Linked DNA regions of Homo sapiens: region 1 is linked to region 2. Evidence: promoter capture Hi-C in 16 types of primary human blood cells and fetal thymus (Javierre and others, 2016). All regions are on one chromosome and are shown on one strand. The core of a region is centred on a gene start or on the middle of the fragment in contact, and the rest is flanking DNA. Distances in the headings are between cores, read along the strand shown. Region 1 overlaps LOC728743 (zinc finger domain-containing protein LOC728743). Region 2 holds the start of ATP6V0E2-AS1 (ATP6V0E2 antisense RNA 1).

What was found. The method cuts DNA at HindIII sites, captures the fragments that hold promoters and counts their contacts. A CHiCAGO score of 5 or more calls a contact.
Region 1: a fragment that was not itself captured here is called in contact with the fragment with the promoter of ATP6V0E2-AS1 in region 2 in 1 of 17 cell types (fetal thymus); the score reaches 5.5 in fetal thymus.

What each region holds. Positions count from the first base shown.
Region 1 is chr7:150,406,968-150,412,829 of GRCh38, forward strand. It overlaps LOC728743 (zinc finger domain-containing protein LOC728743), which reads left to right. Exons shown (of 3, transcript NM_001395976.1): 2 at 617-1,521; 3 at 3,193-5,503. The coding sequence starts at 645. The coding sequence ends at 1,256. Among named protein-coding and RNA genes, the nearest start is that of LINC00996, 24 kb to the right of the region's middle. RefSeq lists an enhancer at 1-31. The HindIII fragment of the contact is 2,546 bases long and covers 4-2,549 here.
Region 2 is chr7:149,870,258-149,876,670 of GRCh38, forward strand. ATP6V0E2-AS1 (ATP6V0E2 antisense RNA 1) reads right to left here and starts at 3,605. Exons shown (of 4, transcript NR_027040.1): 1 at 2,967-3,605; 2 at 1,385-1,539; 3 at 1-94. It overlaps ATP6V0E2 (ATPase H+ transporting V0 subunit e2), which reads left to right and starts at 3,712. Exons shown (of 4, transcript NM_145230.4): 1 at 3,712-3,912; 2 at 5,341-5,388. The coding sequence starts at 3,809. RefSeq lists silencers at 3,239-3,448, 3,479-3,558, 3,969-4,148 and enhancers at 3,511-4,479, 3,809-3,948. The HindIII fragment of the contact is 7,156 bases long and covers 1-6,413 here.

The DNA.
Region 1 (5,862 bases), core at 27-2,526, 530 kb after region 2:
TTAAGCTTCACAAAAATATCTTTAAATCACTGATAATGCCACCCTTTTCTCCAAGTTTGGGGTGCACTTCCCTACCTCCCCCTGTCCTTGAGATCTGGTTGGAGGGATAAGACATATCTAGACGAAGGTAACTGAAAATCCTAGCTGAAACTGAAACTGAAAATCCTAACTGAAACTCATCACCATCTGTCTAGTGTCTTGTGTGGCTGGCTGGCATGGTGCTAGGTGCTGGGGTTGAAAGAAGGCAGCTCTGTCCTTAGGGTGCTGGGAGTCGGGGGACAGAGGTGGCATGACTGACCCTCGTGCAGTATGATCAGTGAGAGCCACATGGTTGTGTCACACGGTGTTTAAGCCCGGGGTGGAAAGGTCAGGGAAGGCTTCTAGGAGAAGGTGCCCTTGGGAAGGGACTGGAAGGAGTGTAGGCCGTGCTTAAAAGGCAGTGGAGGAAGAGGAACACCAATTCCCAGCAGGGGAACTTGAGCTTGAACAAAACGGGGCGAAAGGTGGAGGTTGTGGGAGGTGAGTGTCCCTGCCAGGCTGGGGGTTGGCTAACCCTCGTGTTCCCCGACCCCTCTCTCTCCACCCCCCACCCCCGCCCCCGCTTCTGTCTCCCTAGGGACTGGTGATTGCAGCTGGAAGTGCCCATGACCGAGCTGGCGTCCTCCGGGGGCGGGTCCCCTGCGGGGGACGGGGAGGAGGGTCTGGGGGACGAGCGAGGCCTGGTCATCCACCACCCTGCAGAGGAGCAGCCCTACCGCTGCCCGCTGTGCGGCCAGACCTTCTCGCAGCAGCCCAGCCTGGTGCGGCACCAGAAGGCGCACGCCGGAGCGGGCCGCGCGGCTGCCTTCGTGTGTCCCGAGTGCGGCAAGGCCTTCAGCGTCAAGCACAACCTCGAGGTGCACCAGCGCACGCACACCGGGGAGCGGCCCTTCCCCTGCCCCGAGTGCGGCCGCTGCTTCAGCCTCAAGCAGAACCTGCTCACGCACCAGCGCATCCACAGCGGCGAGAAGCCGCACCAGTGCGCGCAGTGCGGCCGCTGCTTCCGCGAGCCGCGCTTCCTGCTCAACCACCAGCGCACCCACGCGCGCATGCCCGCGCCGCACCCGCGCCGCCCCGGCGTCTTCGGGGAGCGGCGGCCCTACTTCTGCCCCCGCTGCGGCAAGAGCTTCGCGCGCGAGGGCTCGCTCAAGACCCATCAGCGCAGCCACGGCCACGGGCCCGAGGGCCAGGCGGCCCACTTAGGACGCGTGCTATGATGCGCCCGGGGCCTGCTGCCGACGGCTGCTTCCCGCCCCGCACGTGCGTCCCCGACCCCTGGAGATGGCCCTGGGCCGCAGCTCCCTCTCTAGATGGGATCCCGGGAGAGGGGCAGCGCTGGCTTGGGCTCTTGAAGGTGTGGGCCGCCGCCAGGCTCCGGCCGCCCGCTCGCGTTCCTCCCTCGGGACCCTCTGGCTGGCTGCGCACAGCTGCTTCCGGCTCCTGCCATGGTTCTCCTTCTCTGGCCCATCCGGCCTAGAGCAGGTGAGACCTGCGGGGCTGGCCAGAGCCCCTCTCAGGGCTGGGAGTGGTGGGGGTGGAGTGCGTGGTGTTGATTCTTGATGGCAGGTGGGGCGGTCTGGGTACCGGGCTGTAGGTTTCTCTGTGATGAGCTGCTTACCGGATCTTCATCCCCAGAATGTCAGAGTTGAAAGAGACTTGGAGAGGCCACTTTCCACAAACCCCACGCCCAACCTCAGCCCCTAGGCCTCCTGGCTCCTGTACACACTCTCTGCTGTCCTTGAGATGTCATTTCACTTCATGTTTCAGTTTACTCATCTGTAAGTTGGGGATATAGATGAGGGACTCTTCCTCGCTGGGATATATTGCAGCTACTGGATGAGAGAGGGTGAGGTCACTGGTGCACAGAGCCTTAGTTGATTCTGCCACACCATGTGCCACTGACTGTGCCGGGCTGGGCTCTCCCAGAGACACACATGAGGACCGCAGGCCCTGACACGGGGTGCTCACACTCGGTGTGTGACGCGGGGCCAACCTACAAAGTGCTCTGGGGTGAGACCGAGGAGGGTGACTGGTTTCTCTTCGTCACCCAGGGGAGTTTGATGGCTTTGAACCAGGTCATGGGGACAAATAAAATTGTTCTAGGAAGAGCAAGTGTGTAGAAGGGTGTTTTCAAGGGAGGGGGGGTCCTGATAGTTCAGTGACTGTCTCCAGGTGTCCCAAGGGGAGGTTTGCCCTACAAAGGACTTCGTGGTCAGGGGGTGGGGACACTGAGATTTTTAATGAGATGAGTGCTATGATCTCAGACTTATGCTTTAGGAGGAGAATCAGAGGCACTGTGAGGACAGACTGATGTGGGAAGAGCTGGAGCCTCGAGGGGCTTGGGTCATCTGGGCAAGAGAACATAAGGCCCCCAGCTAAGAGGCCTGGCCAAGGTCTGGCAGTGAGAAAGGGGGCAGCCAGGACTCTGCTCCAGGACCTCTGGTTCCAAGCTGGCGCTCTGAGGCACGGGCCTCTTCAGCCTTTTGGCAGATGAGGAAACAGGTTTGCCAAGCTTGCCTACACCACAGTTGGTACTTAGGGGTACAACAGGTGGAAGCCAGGGCTTTGTTTTGGATTCTGAATCCCAGAACCTTTTAGCTTCACTGCTTAAAAAGTGGACGATGGAGCAGGGAGGATTTGGGGCCATGTGATAGGAGCTGGGGCAGGGGTGTTAGGGGTGGTACGGGTGTTTGAAGGGGACATGGCATCCCTGGGAGTGGTTTGGGAGGAAGGGAGCTGGGGCTTCGAGGGGACCTGCACATTCAGTCCTGTGCTGGGTGCTGGAGACTCGTCCCTCCCCACTGCCCCCTCTGCCCATCCTCAGTGCTATGTGGCTATGGCTCCTCGGAGACTGTCCTCTGCCTACCACTCCCAGGTGCTGTAGACTAGCATTGGTGGCAAAGATGAAATTAAACAGGGGCTTCGGACACCTGGAGTCAGTCACCAAAATGCCCTGAACCCAAGGTGTCTCATCTGTAAATGGGATTCGTAATCCTTGCAGTGCTTGGTAGGGGACAAAGAGGATTCATTCAAACCCTAGGACAGATTCAGGGTAGGCCAGCTGATCGCTCCCTCCTAGCCCCAGAGGGGTGGCTGGGCAGGGCCATGTCACGGCTCCACACCTGATCCTGATCTCTTTGTTTCTGTCGACAGTTGCAGAGTGGGCAGGATCTTAAGACCCGATAGGTGCAGAACCCATCTGGACACGGAGACCAGGAATGGAGTTCCATGGAGGCCTGGCTGGCACTGCACCCGGGCATGAGGACACATCCAGTAAGAAGACCTGCCTCAAGAGGTGCACTGCGGTGACCAGTGGAGGTGACTGGTTGGAGCCTGGAATTGGAAGCAGATTCCAAGCTCTGGTGGACAAACTCTCCAGGCCTGGTGGGAATCACAGCTGGGGCAGACCTCATCCTGGCTGCCTGGCCACAGGCCCCCACTCTCTGCCACTGGTGGTAGGACGATGCCTGTGTGGAGAGCTGGCTTCTCTGCTCCCGCCTGGTCCACCACTTGGCTAGAGTTCAGAGACAGGAAGTGATTGGTCTAAGCTAACACAGCAAGTTGGTGGCAGACCTGGTTCTAGAGGCAAAACCTTCTTCCAGATGTGAATGAAACCTGCAGGCTTCATTTTCCTTTCTGAGCAGTGCTTCTTAGCTCTTTGGAGACACGAAGCCCTTGGAAAATCTGATGAAGGTTACGGACCTTCCCTAGGAAAACAGATAACTGACGTAGACTCAAAAACCCCAAGCAATTTCAGGAGCCACTGGACTCCCTGAATGAAACCCATCCCTGGACTCCAGGCTAAGAACCTCAGCCCTGGGGACTTCACCTGCTGCCCTTTCCTTACCTGTCACACATTGAGCCCCGAGTCAAGGCCACTGTACAAGTAGTGCCCCTCCCTCCCCCTGGCCAAGCCTCCTTCCCTTGTTCAGGAATAAAGAATTCCGAGGAGCCCTTTTTAGTCATTCCCTTCTCCCAGACCTAACGAATGGTGCGTCAGGTTTCTGGAGCCTCATTTCCCTTCCCCAGACATTGGCAGAGGTCCCTTGGGCTAGATTTTCTCTTCTGGTTTTGTTTCTTGTTCTGCCTGACTGGCCGCTGGCTTCCACAAAGGAGCCCTTTGCTCCTGGCCTGGGCTCTGATTTCACTGTGTGGTCTCAGGGGAAGCTGGACTGCTGTGGACGCTGGTGGGAGCTTGAGTCTGGTCTGAGTCTGCCCCAGGGAGAAAGAATCCTGCTTCCACCAACCAAGCCCAGTCAGCGGTTCCTCCCAGCTGGCCAAGTGTTCAGCCCAGTGGGCTGGGGAGGAAGAGGATGAGGGCCTCGCTCCTGGTGCCTGTGGCTCTGGGCAGGGTGAGAGGTCGGTGGAGGATCTTTCTGTGTGTTCTCTGAGTATGCAGCAGTGCAGTTGAAGGGAACAGGGCCCAGGCAGGCAGCAGGGCAAGGACTCCTCCCATCTTCACACCTGAACCAGTCAGCCTGGAAGCTACAAGTTCTCACCTGCCTCCCCAGAATGAACATCAGAAAAGGCAAAACTGACCAGGGCTGGGATGGGTTTGGGTCAGCGTGGTTGGAGGGCAGCCTGTGGATCCCTGCACTGGAGTCTTGCTGTCTTCGATGCAGGTTGGATCATACATTGTTACCTCCTACTGTATGCCTCACCCTGGAATAGCAGAATGCTCAGGGGGAGATCCGAGAACGAGAAGGTGCTCCCAGCCCCAGGAGCTTCCAGTCTGGCTCTGATCCTTGGCCGACCTAGAGGAAACCTCCACACACGCCCCTTTTGTGCTAATGGTGCAGTTTGTGTCCCCCTCTGCCCATCACTGTGCTGTGCTTGTTCCTGCCTCTGTGCCTTCCCCTATACTGCTCGGACATGTCCCCTTTCCTCTCCTCTACCCAGCTAAGCCCTTCTGATCCACGGGGCCCGGCTTCCCAAACCACCCAGCCCACATTCCTCCTTCCTGCTCCGAACAGGTCCGGTGTGAGCCCCTGCCCCCGAACTGCGTGCTGTCCCATGGACGCTCCAGTCTCTTCCGTGTGTGTCTTGAGTCCCTAACTAGACAGTTAGCTCCCTGAGGGCAAGGGACTGTCATTTCCTCTTGAGTCCTACCAGGGTCTAGCACAGGACTGGGCTCCTAACTCTCAGGAAACACTTGTCGGCTGACTGGTGCCTCAAGCGCTGGAGCTTGTCGGTGGCCGGTAATGGGCAGTGCACGTGGGGAGAGGGTATGTGAGTTAACTCAAGGGTGCCTTTTCTTGGGCTGTGGGCTGGCTCCCCTGGGTCAAAAGTGGATGTCGGAGGCCTCAGGCTCTTACCTCCTTGGGGCAGTGGGAGCATCAGGGACCCCCACCCCCACCCCGGCTCTGCAGGAGTGCACGGAAGTGGTCGTCCAGCCTGGATATTTCTACAGGTTGCTGACTCCTGCGGGAGCTGACTGAGTGGAATAAATGTTCTCTCAACATCAGCTTGTGTAAGGAGTGGTCATTTGGGGCTTAGCGGGGAGCAGGGTGGTGGCCTCTGTCTCTGCCTCCATCATCTCTTGAGGAATTATGTTTCAAGGTTGCCTGGTGACCAAAGACCCTAGAAGACACACATCAGAGCCTCAGTGACGAGCTATTGTAGGCTTCTGGCACCTGCACAGTGACTGCCCTTTGCACCTGACTCACACATATAGGGGCTGCAGCCCTTGCTGCCTGCGCAGCCCACGGTGAGGCCAGACTTGCCGAGAAGCGTCGGACGGTTCCCTCAGTGCTTGAGCAGTGGACGGCTAAGAGTGCTTGAGTCGGGAGACCAGGCCCCTGTGCTGGTCTGTCTCCAATGGGA
Region 2 (6,413 bases), core at 2,355-4,854:
TTTTTGGCCTCTGTTGGGGGCTGGGAATCCTTCACCCAAAGCTCATGTTCCCTTTCAAGTCTACAAGTGATCTCTGGTTTGGCAGCAGCATGCACTGTAGGGAGAAAGACAGCCCAGTGCCCCTCAACCCACACTGAGCGCACATAGACCCGTGTCAGTCCTGAAGCCTGACTTGCACCACCCATTTAATGCCCTGGGCTCACCCTATCAATTTGGGACAGCGGGGGTAGGTTGTAAACCTAAGAGAGCTCCAGAAGTAGGCAGGGCCTGGCATACAGGTAGGGATGTTTATTTCAGGGCAACTTCAGGAGTGCCAAGGGCTGATAAAACAGTGCAATTGTCATAATATGTTTTCCCACTGCCAGGGCCCTTGAAGGAGAAACAGGCTCAACTAGTCACAGAGACAACCATGCTCTGGGTCTAGTTCTCCCTGACCCCACAGGCCAGGAGTGCCCCTATTAGATGGCAAGCAAGCAAGGGGCCAAGGTCCTCACCCAGCAAGACTCCCAGCTCCTAATTCCTTCTTATCACATCCTGGTATAATTCCTTCTACTCATGGCCACCAGAACAATGGGTGGAAGGTAGGTGGTTACATCATTAAATGTCACAGGCCTTATTTGCAAAGACAGAGACATCTGGAGCTGTTGTTCTCACCTCCGACACGTGCCCCGTCTGCAGAGAGCATTAGGATGCATCTGTGGCTCTGAGGTGTGATTTCCTAGGGCCTTCAAGTGTCCTGGGGCTCCTGTTCATTTGCACTGGGGGACACTCAGGGAAGTTTTAAAGAGCCTCTTTCAGTGGCTCCTTCTCCTTCTACCCTTTCTAGGAATTCATCAGCCCCATGAAAAGATGAACGATAGAGATGTCACCAACATCAGGACCCCACTCCCTGGGAGATGTCATGGAAACTTGTCAATCACACCCAAAGCACTCACTGAGGAGCCATGGCAGAGCAGTCGGTGGCGCCAATACCAACCAGAAGCCGCCAGGGCAGAGGGGAACCGTGAAGCCAGTGGAATGCACAGCTCCACCTCAGGGGACCGGGGTAGGCGGGGCTGTGTCTGGTAACATGCCCTTTGCCTCACATTAGTGCCTCTGAAAATAGTGTCCTCAGCCTGGGCACAAACCCTAGGGGTGAGCTGGGAGTGTGGAGGAGACGCTGGATTAGGGAGAAGTCTCGGCCATGTGTTCTGGCTCTTTTACTGATGAGCTGTGTGGGCCTAGGCAAGTTACTTCACTTCTCTGGGCCTCAGTTTTATCACCTGTAAAGTGATAGGATTGCCTTAGCCTCTAAGATCCCTTTCAGCTAAAAACAAAGTTCTAGAAAATAAATATGTGGTACTGTGGAACTCTGGGGAGCTGTTTGATCAGGTGAACAGTTTACCCATGGAAATGGGGCTCCAGCACAAAGCTGCTCACATCTTCCAGTCACGCTCCAGGGAACAGCCAGGGCTTGTGGGCCCAGATGAGGCTTTAGTGGTTGGAGAAGGAGCCAGTTCCTGGTTTTAATCCCTTCATGGACCTCAGACCATCACAAAGCTGCCAAACAAATGACACAGGCAATCACATGCAAATTAGGACAGAAATGAAACATCAAAGACATTAAAGGAAAAGAGTAAGAGCTGCAGGCTGCTAATATGAGTGGCTGCTCAGACTCAGCAATGTTTTTGGTTCTGGCCAAAGCCAAGACAAAGGAGCAGAGGCAAAGAAGGAAATACATTTCACTTTACAGCTGTCATTTTCTACAGAGGATTTTTTTTTTTCCAGAACAAAATTCAAAAAGTCCGTCTTTTTTGAGCTATAGAACTTTCGTGGTGATTTTTTTTTTTTTTTTTTTTTTGAGACGGAGTCTCACTCTGTCCCCCAGGCTGGAGTGCAGGGGCACAATCTCGGCTCACTGCAAGTGCAAGCTCTGCCTCCCGGGTTCACGCCATTCTCCTTTCAGCCTCCAAAGTAGCTAGGACTACAGGTGCCCGCCACCATGCCCAGCTAATTTTTTTATATTTTTAGTAGAGACGGGGTTTCACCGTGTTAGCCAGGATGGTCTCGATCTCCTGACCTCGTGATCCGCCCGCCTCTGCCTCCCATAGTGCTGGGATTACAGGTGTGAGCCACTGCGCTCAGCCCTCGTGGTGATTTTTTGAAGGCCTGTATGGACATACTCTTAACTCTATCTCCTGGATGCCAAGTGCACCCTTATCCTAGGCCAGTGTTCTCAACAATGTACACACTCTGGATGAGAAAAATAACCATTGTTTACAATCCAGCTAAAATCTCACCTCCTCCAGGGAGTCTTCCTGGATTTCTCCACCCTCTGAATTCTCATAATGGGCATTTGGCTACTTTGATCACAGGGCTCTTAGAACTGCGCTGTCCAGCATTATGATTTTACCAGAATATATCACTCCTCAACTACTTTAGAAACCCCTCGAAGGCTAGGATGGTATTTTATACCTAACAGTTTGGTGTCATCCCACGCCCACCTCCAACTTACATGAATGTTGGAAGGATGGATAGGGAGGTTTCAACTAGAGAACGGAGAAGGGCGGATGTAACTGGTTCTTGATTTCAGAAAACAGCCAGGAGCACACATGGCTGACGGGGTCAGTGCAAGGACAGGCACATTTCCCTTCTGCATCACGTGGGGACTGCGCCTCCCTATGTCATGAAGCCAGGGAATATGTGTGGCCGGCCGCTTGGGGTAGCACTTGTTGCTAGAGATACCGCCTGGAGGCCACTGATCTGTAAAAGGGATCTCTACAGAAGATAGGGATTTTTGATCGCCAGAGAAGAAGGGATATGTGAGATCCAAACGCCGAAGGAGGAAAGCAGGCTCCGTGGTCTCTTCCAGCCCTGATGGAAGAAACTACCGAGCCTTATTATACTAGGTGCTTTCCACATGCCTATTCATTTAATCCTCCAGCAACCTTGTAAGAAGGGCCATCCCATTTTATATTTAAACAAACCTTAACTACTGACGCAAGGAGTCAAGGATCTAATCCCAAAGCCTCTGCCTGGTTCGCTGCAGATGGATGTCCGCGAGGACGCCAGCCCTCCGCCTCCCGCCGGGTCCCTGAACGCCGGCCCGGCCGGTCCAACCTCATTCCGCTTCCCGCCATCGAAACGCGAAGCCCCCGCCTTCCCCCAAACGTCTCAGCGCCGCTGGGGCCTTTCTGGCTGCGCCGCCTCCGACCCCAGGCCCCGGTCCGCGCCCGCCGCTCGCTAGTCCTGGGAGTGAGGAGAACGCGTGCTGAGGACCCGGCCAGAGGGACAGCGGGGACCGCCCTCCCGCTGCGTCTCTGAAAGCGAGGCCGTTCCTCCCGCGTCCGACCCCCGCGGGGCCGTCAGGTTCGGGGCGGCCCAGGCTGCGGGTCCGCAGGGCGCTTCGGGCCGAGCCGGCGCGGCGCGTGAAGGGCAGGGGACGCCCCGAAAGACCGCTGGGGTGGGACCCCAAGCTCCAGGGGTCTTTGGAAATAAGAATGCGGCGTGACGTTGGCTGTGCGGGCGCGGGGCTGACGCGGACCCTATAACCCATCGCCGAAACCGGGCGGCCGCGCCCCTATTCCTCGGCATTTCTCTCTGTCCGCGGCCCTGCTCAGCCAATCAGCGAGTGGGCTCCTAGGCAGGTCCTGAGTGACAGCGCGGCGGGCTGGATCAGGAGATGCGCGTGCGCGGCCCGGCCCGGCTGATCGCTTCGGGTGCTCGACTCCTGTTGCGCATGCTCAGCGCGCTGCCCGGCTGGGGACCCGCGCACCTGCAGCGCCCGCTGCTCGGCCCTGCATCCTGCCTGGGCATCCTGCGCCCGGCCATGACGGCGCACTCATTCGCCCTCCCGGTCATCATCTTCACCACGTTCTGGGGCCTCGTCGGCATCGCCGGGCCCTGGTTCGTGCCGAAGGGACCCAACCGCGGGTAAGGAAAGCGCGCAGGCCCTGCAGACCTCTCCACCCCGGCCCCCTGGCCCGGCTCGCCCCTCCGCCCCGGGGCGGCGGCTTCCTGCTCTGCAGCGAGCGTCCGCAGGAGGGACGCCAGGACCCCGGACGCCACCTCTGAGGTCTCTCTGCACCTGGGTCTCTGACAGCCGGGAACAGGCAGGAGGTGGGGCGAGAGGGCATATCCAGAAGGTAAAGAGGAGAGTGACATTGGAGATGTCTGTCACCCCTCCTGCAGCCAGTAAAGGGCACAAGTGGGCACTGACGCAGTTTCTCCACTCCTTGCTAGCTGTGTGACCTAGAGCCAATATCAAGTCTCAGTTTCTTCATGGGTAAAATGGAGATAATGTCGACTCCTGCCTTAAAAGGCTGCTGTGAGGATGACCTGCGGTAACGCATTTAAAACACCTACCAGTGCGTGACACTTTGTAGGTATGGGATAAGTTTAGCTGGCGTTATTTTTCGAAGGTCCTCTAGCAGATTGCTGCGCCATTCACCAGTTTCTGCTTCATATTATCTTCAGTTACAAAGCACCCTTCCCTTGACTGCATGTTCCCAGGGGCTGGAGTTTGTCCAGTTCACCATTGTCTACTCAGTGCCCAGCCAGGACTGGCACAACCTGCTTAGTAATGTTGAAAAAGGGATCGCGTGCTCCTGTGTCCAGCACCAGCTTGCAGTGCTTTAGATCAAAGATCAAGGGCCTCGTTTGGATTAGAGTTAGCTTTGCCCAAAGGCCGTTTGGACATGTGAGTGCTGCCTTTGTTCTTAAAGACAGGCAGGGTTTGGGATCCCACAGCTTCACTTTGTAAACCATTTTCGTGTCTTGCGTCTCCTGCTATTCTTGGTGAGTTCTTGCTTCAGTTTGACTGAAATTTCTTTTGCTGCACTTGAAGCATCTGTCTCTGGTCTTCTCTGAGTACACGCAAAGTGGCTAGTCCCTGTTCTCTTTGTAACAACTCACTGGGCCTCAGAACTGGCTCACAGTCTGCCTGCTTCTTGCCCTGTCTTCTAGCCTATTGTTTTCCTTCCCCTTGCTCCATGAATTTTGAATTCTACAGACCACTCCCTGTTGGGTTGCCACAAATGCAGCTCTGTGCAGTGCCTTTCCACAACACGTCTGCATTAAGATGGAGCAATATTGGGTGGTAGAGAAGGGAAATGAAGGGAAGGATTCTTAAGGCAACTTGGATGTGGTCAAGGTTGGCCTCTCTGTGAGGTGACACTTTCAGTTTTTATTTTCTGCCTTGCTATTCTTACCCTGAGTAGAACTCAGCCTCCTGTGTCCAGGAGGCATCAGGAAGGCCAATGGAAAAGAGCTCACACCAGGAGCTCTTCTTGCTCTGGTCCTGGCCAGGCCTTGTGAGGTGCTGGCTGCATTTGTTCTGACCCGTGTCCTCTTCTGCTGCAGAGTGATCATCACCATGCTGGTCGCCACCGCCGTCTGCTGTTACCTCTTGTAAGTACTACTCTCCCCAGCTCAAAGTCAGCCAGTTCCTTTGTCCTCCCTCCTTTCCTCCTCACCCTAGCCTGCTCTTCCTTCTGTCCTGGTAGTAAATGCCTCTTGAAAGGCTGAACCTATAAAACAACAGGAGTGGAGGTGGTGTGGAATGGGAAAGAGAGCAGTGGGCCAGAAGTCATGAACCCTGGGCTCTGGATCTGGCTCTGCCCCCAGAGTTCTGGCCCCCATGGGCTGTAGTTTTCTCACCTGGGCAAGGAAGGAGGCAGGCCACCTCAGTGCTGTCTGTGCCTGACTGGGTCACCTGGAGTGATTGTTCAAACACAGTTTTCAGGCTGCACCCTACACCCATGAAATTACAACTCTCGAGATCTGCACTTGGGAATTCCTGTTGTTCATGAATGCCCCCAGGTGACTGGAATGCAGCCATCTTAGAACCACTAGGTGAGAGGCCAGACGTGGCGGCTCACGCCTGTAATCCCAGCACTTTGGGAGGCTGAGGTGGGTGGATCACGAGGTCAGGAGTTCGAGACCAGTCTGGCCAACATAGTGAAACTCCGTCTCTACTAAAAATACAAAAATTAGCCAGGCCTGGTGGCGCGTGCCTGTAGTCCCAGCTACTCAGGAGGCTGAGGCAGGAGAATCGCTTGAACCCGGGAGACGGAGGTTGCGGTGAGCCAAGATCTTACCACTGCACTCCAGCCTGGGCAACAGAGTGAGACTCCGACTCTAAAAAAAGAACCACTAGGTGAGAGTAAGTCATCAAACTTGGAATAGGTACCCTGGGGATATAGAAGAACATTCCAAGGGACTTGAATACCTGGAGAGTGTGAGGAAATCAGTTTGCAGATCCTCAGTGTCTATTGTTTAGTCTCTTGCTAAAACTGCCATTCACAATAGCCAATCCCTCTTTATTAAAAAAATTTTTTAAAAGGAAAAAGAAAAAGACCCTGCCCCCGCATCCATCCCAAACCTGCGGTTACATTGCTCCATGTTTAGATGATCCTGGCTGCCAACCAAGAGAT